Regions from separate parts of the Homo sapiens genome. Here region 2 is linked to region 1. The links are contacts of gene promoters, found by promoter capture Hi-C in human tissues and cell types (Jung and others, 2019). All regions are on one chromosome and are shown on one strand. The core of a region is centred on a gene start or on the middle of the fragment in contact, and the rest is flanking DNA. Distances in the headings are between cores, read along the strand shown.

Evidence for each region. The method cuts DNA at HindIII sites, captures the fragments that hold promoters and counts their contacts. A contact is called where the count stands out against the background at its distance.
Region 2: a fragment that was not itself captured here is called in contact with the fragment with the promoter of ZNF648 in region 1 in 1 of the 25 tissues and cell types used here (small bowel).

What each region holds. Positions count from the first base shown.
Region 1 is chr1:182,059,879-182,063,318 of GRCh38, forward strand. ZNF648 (zinc finger protein 648) reads right to left here and starts at 1,834. Exons shown (of 2, transcript NM_001009992.1): 1 at 1,690-1,834. The HindIII fragment of the contact is 24,066 bases long and covers 1-3,440 here.
Region 2 is chr1:182,006,353-182,009,792 of GRCh38, forward strand. No RefSeq gene overlaps it. Among named protein-coding and RNA genes, the nearest start is that of ZNF648, 54 kb to the right of the region's middle. The HindIII fragment of the contact is 4,816 bases long and covers 1-3,440 here.

The DNA of each region.
Region 1 (3,440 bases), core at 584-3,083:
ATTGAGGTTACTTACCTGCCCAAGGCCACACAGCTCATAGACAGCAGCAGTGGGGTTTCTCTCTAATTTTAAGGCCATTAAGCCCCAAATGGTCCTGCCTCCCAGCTGTGGCCTTCAGACTGAAGCCTGCTCTGGGGCTGGGCTCTGCCCAAGAGCAGCTGCAGCATCCTGGGGTGAAAAGCCGTGGCTTTCTGCAGGCATCAAAGCCCCTTGTGTTTTCTGGGCCAAGGAACCTTGGCTACAGGGCCTCACTGCTGGGCTCCTCCCTGCTTTCATTGACCCAGATTGCCCTCCGCCAAAGAGAGAGGCCAGTGGCTGCCCATCAGAGCCAGGACCCATGTTGCAGAGGCCACTGCCTGTGGTGCTCAAGAGTATTAGTCACTGAGTATTTACCTTCTGAAAGCTCCTTCTCTCTACCTCTGCCCACCTTTCACTGCCATCTCAGACTGGATAAAAGGAGTGATCTTTGTATTTGGCTGGTACAGTTAACCCTATCCCCATCTCATTAAACTGTTCTTCCCTGGTTTCTGCCTGATCATGAGCCCAGTTACCCTGTGTGTATGAAGAGGGAGCAGTATGGAGGAATCCTCACTTTCTGCTCTGGATACAGAAGCCATGGATGGAGGGAGGACACATTGCAGTTGTGACTGGAATTCAGCATCTCACGTCTCTTTGTGCCCTAAAGCCCAGGGACCACTCCTCTTCTCTCACTGCTTCCCTCACCCATCACATGGCAGAGGGTAGCTGGCATGCCTTTTGACAGGAGCCCAGATCTGACATATTTTCAGCATAGTGGATCTTAGGGAGTGAATGTGTAGTTCATAGAGGGGACATACCACTAGCCAACCTCATAGAACTTGCTCAGACCAGCAGGCTTGATCCGGGGCTGTAGGTCCCCCAGCAGGGACAGCAAAGGGATGCTGGATTTGTATGAAACACATGTCTTAGGTCTCTTTCCCTCTTTACGACAACATACTGCCTGTTTCTGTGGCACTGTTCACAGATCACTGACTTTACCCGCTCCCCACCCCACCTCCAGCACAAATACCCCATTTTCCACAGTCTGTGTGTCATTCTTTTCCTCTGGGCCACAGGGGAGCCTCCTTAGGGTGGCACACAGCCCTCCACTAGCTAACCAATCTCCTCTCCAGAGCCCGTCAGGAGACTCTCTTTTCAGATGAGGTATCCCTCCTCCATCTGAAGCCATATCCCCAGTGAATATGTCCTGCTTTCTTCCTCCTGTCGCTGCCACACGCATGCTCTCGACCACCAGGAAGACCTGGAGGCAGGCAGGGGCACAGGGAGGGATTTTCTGGCAAAGTCTGCACAAATATACCTGGTCTGAAAGAGGAACACTGATGCCATGGTATGGCGGGCCTCTCTGCTCCCCAGATGTGCTAGTCCCCAGAGGCTGTCAGAGCAGTCCTTTGCTGGAACTTCCTCTGCACTTGCCAGCCAAGAGTGGACCAAATGCAGCCTTTGACTCCCCAACCTCATACATCCATCAACACTCTGCAGAAGCCTACCCTAAGGGCTTGTTGCAACCCCAGCCCATACCCCTCTTCTTTCCTTCATTCTTTCCAGATTGTACTGAAGTCCATCCTAGGCAGCCGCCTCCTACTTTCTTCTCTGCTCACCGCCTTCAGGCCTTGCTCTCCACTCCTGGCTCACACACAGACGGTTGCTTACCTGGGAAATGCAGACAGCAGTGTGGGGCCTCTGCCCTGGCTTCTGTGACACGTGGGCTCTCAGCAACAGGAACCAGTTAGGTACAAATCAGCAGAGATGGTGTCTCTGTCTCTCACGCTTTGTGTCCAGTCCAGCGGCTGCAGAGAGAGCCTCTGGAGGTGGGGCCAGTGTAATACACTCAACCTTCCTGCCTGCATCCAGAGAGCAGCCTGGGAAATAGAGTGGGGCTGCCCTCTCTCACTGCCTGAACCGATCCTCTGGCTCCCTCTGCTCCTGCCTCCCCTCCCTGCCAAAGCCAGCCTTCCTCCTTCCCTCCTCTCAGTCTTCCTGCAGGTGGCCCTATGCCTCTTGTTCACTTTCACTCCTTCCTTCCACAGAGCAGTCCATCCTTCACTTTAGCCCTGGTATGCCCATGGGCCACATGTCACTTGTGAGCTTCCTGGGTAGCATGCTTTTTCCCTCCTGGAAGGCAGAACAGAGTATTTGGCCTATATGCCCACCTCCCTATTCTAGTACCCACCTTTTGCAGGACTGTGAGTTGCAGAACTGTGAGGGGTTGGGATTCCCAGAATTCTTTGTAGCAGCCCATTCATTGGCTCAAAGATGCCCACAGCCTTTTAACTGGGAGTAGGGGTGCAGGGAGATGGTTTTCTGTCTTATGCATACAGATGCCAGGCCTGTCTGGGGTCTCTTTCCACTTTCAGCATTGATTCCCATGCAGGTTCATTTTGAAGAGAAGGATTGGCCCAAGGTAGAAGACTCAGTACATTCAGAATTTTTACCCACTCAAGTCTAATGTGCATTTATTAGGATGAACATTCAGGGCATTAAAATAGGTGATGGAAGTGTGGTTCCTGTGATGTCACTAGGTGGTCACAAAGTATACTGATTGACAGCACGGTCTGGGTCTGGGTTTGAATCTTACTACTTACTAGCTGTGTGATCTTGGGCAAGTTATTTAACCTCTGTGTGCCTTAGTGTCTCATCTGCAAAACAGGGACCAGGATACTATTGCCATCATGGAAGTTTGGGGAGTATTAAATGAGATAATGCATGTAAGGAGCTTAGTTCGGTGTTTGGAACATAGCAAGTACCCAAAAACGTTAGCTGCTTTCATTGTTATTATTGACGATTTTTAAAAATTTTAAGTTCCGGGATACATGTGCAGGATATGCAGGTTTGTTACATAGGTAAACATGTGCCATGCTGGTTTGCTGCACCTATCAACCCTTCCTTCACCTAGGTATTAAGCCCGGCATGCATTAGCTATTTTTCCTGATGCTCTCTCCACCCCGCACTCCCCCAACTGGCCCCAATATGTGTTGTTCCCCTCCCTGTGTCCATGTGTTCTCACTGTTCAGCTCCCATTTATAAGTGAGAACATGCGGTGTTTGGTTTTCTGTTCCTTTGCCAGTTTGCTGAGGATAATGCCTCCAGCTCCATCCCTGTCCCTGCAAAGGATATGATCCTGTTCCTTTTTATGGCTGCATGGTATTCCATGGTGTATATATACCACATTTTCTTTATCCAGTCTATCATTGATGGGCATTTGGGTTGATTCCAAGTCTGCTATTGTGAATAGTGCGGCATTGAACATATGCATGCATGTATCTTTATAATAGAATTATTTATATTCCTTTGGGTATATTCCCAGTAATGGGATTGTGGATCAAATGGTATTTCTGGTTCTAAATCTTTGAGGAATCGCTATACTGTCTTCCACAATGGTTGAACTAATTTACATTCCCACC
Region 2 (3,440 bases), core at 382-2,881, 54 kb before region 1:
AAATGAATAAAGCCTCCAAGAAGTTTGGGATTATGTTAAACGACCAAACCGAAGAATAATTGGTGTTCCCGAGGAAGAAGATAAATCTAAAAGTTTGGAAAACATATTTGAGGGAATAATTGAGGGAAATTTCTTGACCTTGCTAGAGATCTAGATATTCAAATACAAGAAGCTCAACGGACTCCCAGGAAATTCATTGCAAAAAGATCATCACCTAGGCACACAGTCATGAGGTTATCTAAAGTCAAGATGAAGGAAAGAATCTTAAGAGCTTTCAGGCAAAAGCATCAGGTAACCTATAAAGGAAGACCTATCAGATTAACAGGAGATTTCTCAAGAGAAACCCTACAAGCTAGAAGGGATTGGGGTCCTATCTTTGGCCTCCTTAAACAAAACAATTATCAGCCAAGAATGTTGTATACAGTGAAACTAAGCTTCATAAATAAAGGAAAGATACAGTCTTTTTCAGAAAAACAAATGCTGAGAGAATTCACCACTACTAAGCCCATACTACAAGAACTGCTAAAAGGAGCTCTAAGTCTTGAAATAAATCCTTGAAATACACCAAAATAGAACCTCCTTAAAGCATAAATCTTACAGGGCCTATAAAACAATAATAAAATGAAAACAAAACAAGGTATTCAGACAACAACTAGCATGATGAATAGAAAAGTACCTCACATCTCAATATTAACATGGAAAGTAAATGGCCTAAATGCTCCACTTAAAAGACACAGAATGGCAGAATGGATAAGAATTCACTAACCATGTATGTGCTATCTTCAAGAGACTCACCTAACAAATAAAGACTCACAAAAACTTAAAGGAGTGAAAAAAAAATATTCCATGAAAATGGACACCAAAACCAAGCAGAAGTAGCTATTCTTATATCAGAAAAAAGGAACATTAAAGCAACAACAGTTTAAAAAGACAAAAAGGGACATTATATAATGACAAAATTTGTAGTTCAACAGGAAAATATCACAATCCTAAATTTATATGCACCTAACACTGGTGCTCCCAAATTTATAAAACAATTACTACTAGACCTAAGAAATGAGATAGATGGCAACACAATAATAGTGGGGATTTCAGTACTCCACTGACAGCACTAGACAGGTCATCAAGACAGAAAGTCAACAAAGAAACAATGGACTTAAACTATACATTAGAACAGGCCGGGCACAGCGGCTCACACACCTGCAATCCCAGCACTTTGGGAGGCCAAGGAGGGTGGATCATTTGAGGTCAGGAGTTCGAGACCAGCCTGGTCAACATGGTGAAATCCTGTCTCTACTAAAGATACTAAAATTTGCTGGGCATGGTGGTGCATGCCTGTAATCCTAGCTATTCAGGAGGCTGAGACAGGAGAATTGCTTGAACATGGGAGGCGGAGTTGCAGTGAGCCAAGATCACACCACTGTACTCCAGCCTGGGTGACAGAGTGAGACTCCGACTCAAAAAAAATAAAAAAATTAAAATAAAATAAAAATAAACTATACCCTAGAGCAAATGCACTTAATAGATATTTACAGAACATTCTACCTAACAACTGCAGAATATACATTCTATTCATTAGCACATGAAACATTCTCCAAAATAGACCACATGATAGGCCACAAAACAAGTCTCAATAAATATAAGAAAATTCTACCAAGTACTCTCTCAGACCACAGTGGAATAAAAATGGAAATTATCTCTAAAAGGAACCCTAAAAACCAGCAAATATATGGAAATTAGATAACCTGCTCCTAAATGATCATTGGATCAAAAATGAAATCAAGATGGAAATTTGAAAATTCTTTGAACTGAAAGATAATAGTGACACATCCTATCAAAACCTCTGGGAAATGGCAAAGGCAGTGCTAAGAGGAAAGTTTATATTTTTAAGTGCCTACATCAAAAAGTCTAAAAGAGCACAAATAGACAATCTAAGGTCACACCTCAAGAAACTGGAGAAACAAGAACAAACCAAACCAAAACACAGCAGAAGAAAAGAAATAACAAAGATCAGAGCAGAACTAAATGAAACTGAAATAAACAAACAAAAAATACAAAAAACGAATGAAACAAAAAGCTTGTTCTTTGGAAAGATAAATAAAATTGATAGACCATTAGTGAGATTAACCAAGAAAAGAAGAGCGAGGATCCAAATAAGCTCAATTAGAAACAAAACAGGAGATATCACAACTGATACCACAGAAATAGATCATTCAAGGCTACCATGAACACCTTTATGTGTATAAACTAGAAAACCTAGAGGAGATACATAAATTCCTGGAAATACACAACCCTCCTAGATTAAGCCAGCAAGAAATAGAAACTCTGACCACACCAATAACAAGCAGCAAGACTGAAATGGTAATTTAAAAATTGCCGCACACACACACACACACACAAAGTCCAGGACCAGATGGATTCACAGCTGGTGCTGAATTCTGTCTGATGTTCAAAGAATAGTTGGTACCAATCCTATTGACACTATTCCACAAGATAAAGAGGGAATACTCCCTAAATTATTCTATGAAGCCAGTATCACCCTGATACCAAAACCAGGAAAGGACATAACAGAAAAAGAAAACTACAGGCCACTATCCCTAATGAATATAGATGCAAAAATCCTTAACAAAATACTAGTGAATTGAATCCAACAGCATATCTAAAAGATAATCCAACATGATCAAGTGGGTTTCATACCAGGGATTCAGGGATGGTTTAACATATGCAAGTCAATAAATGTGATACACCACATAAACAGAATTAAAAACAAAAATCACATTATCATCTCAATAGATGCAAAAAAAAGCATTTGACAAAACCCAGCATCCCTTTATGATTAAAACCCTCAGCAAAATTGGCATAGAAGGGACATATCTTAATGTAATAAAAGCCATTTATGACAAACCCACAGCTGACATAACACTGAATAAAGTTGAAAGCACTCCTCCCGAGAACTGGAATAAGGACGCCCACTCTCACTACTTCTAATCAACATAGTATTAGAAGTCCTAGCGAGAGCAATCAGACAAGAGAAAAAAATAAAGGGCATCCAAATTGGTGAAGAGGAAGTCAAACTGTTGCTGTCTGTGGATGATATGCTCATATACCTAGAAAATCATAAAGACTCCTCCAAAAAGCTCTTAGAACTGATAAATGAATTTAGCAAAATTTCGGGATAAAAAATTAATGTACACAAATCAGTAGTTCTGCTATGCACCAACAGTAACCAAGCTGAGAATCAAATACAAAAGTCACCCCTTTAATAATAGCTGAAAAAAAAACCAACCTAGAAATATGCCTAACCAAGGAGGTGAAATACCTCTACAAGGAAAACTACAAAACACTGCTGAAAGAAATCACAGATGACACAAACCAATGGAAAAACATCCCATGCTCATGGATGGATAGAATCAATATGATGAAAATGACCATACTGCCAA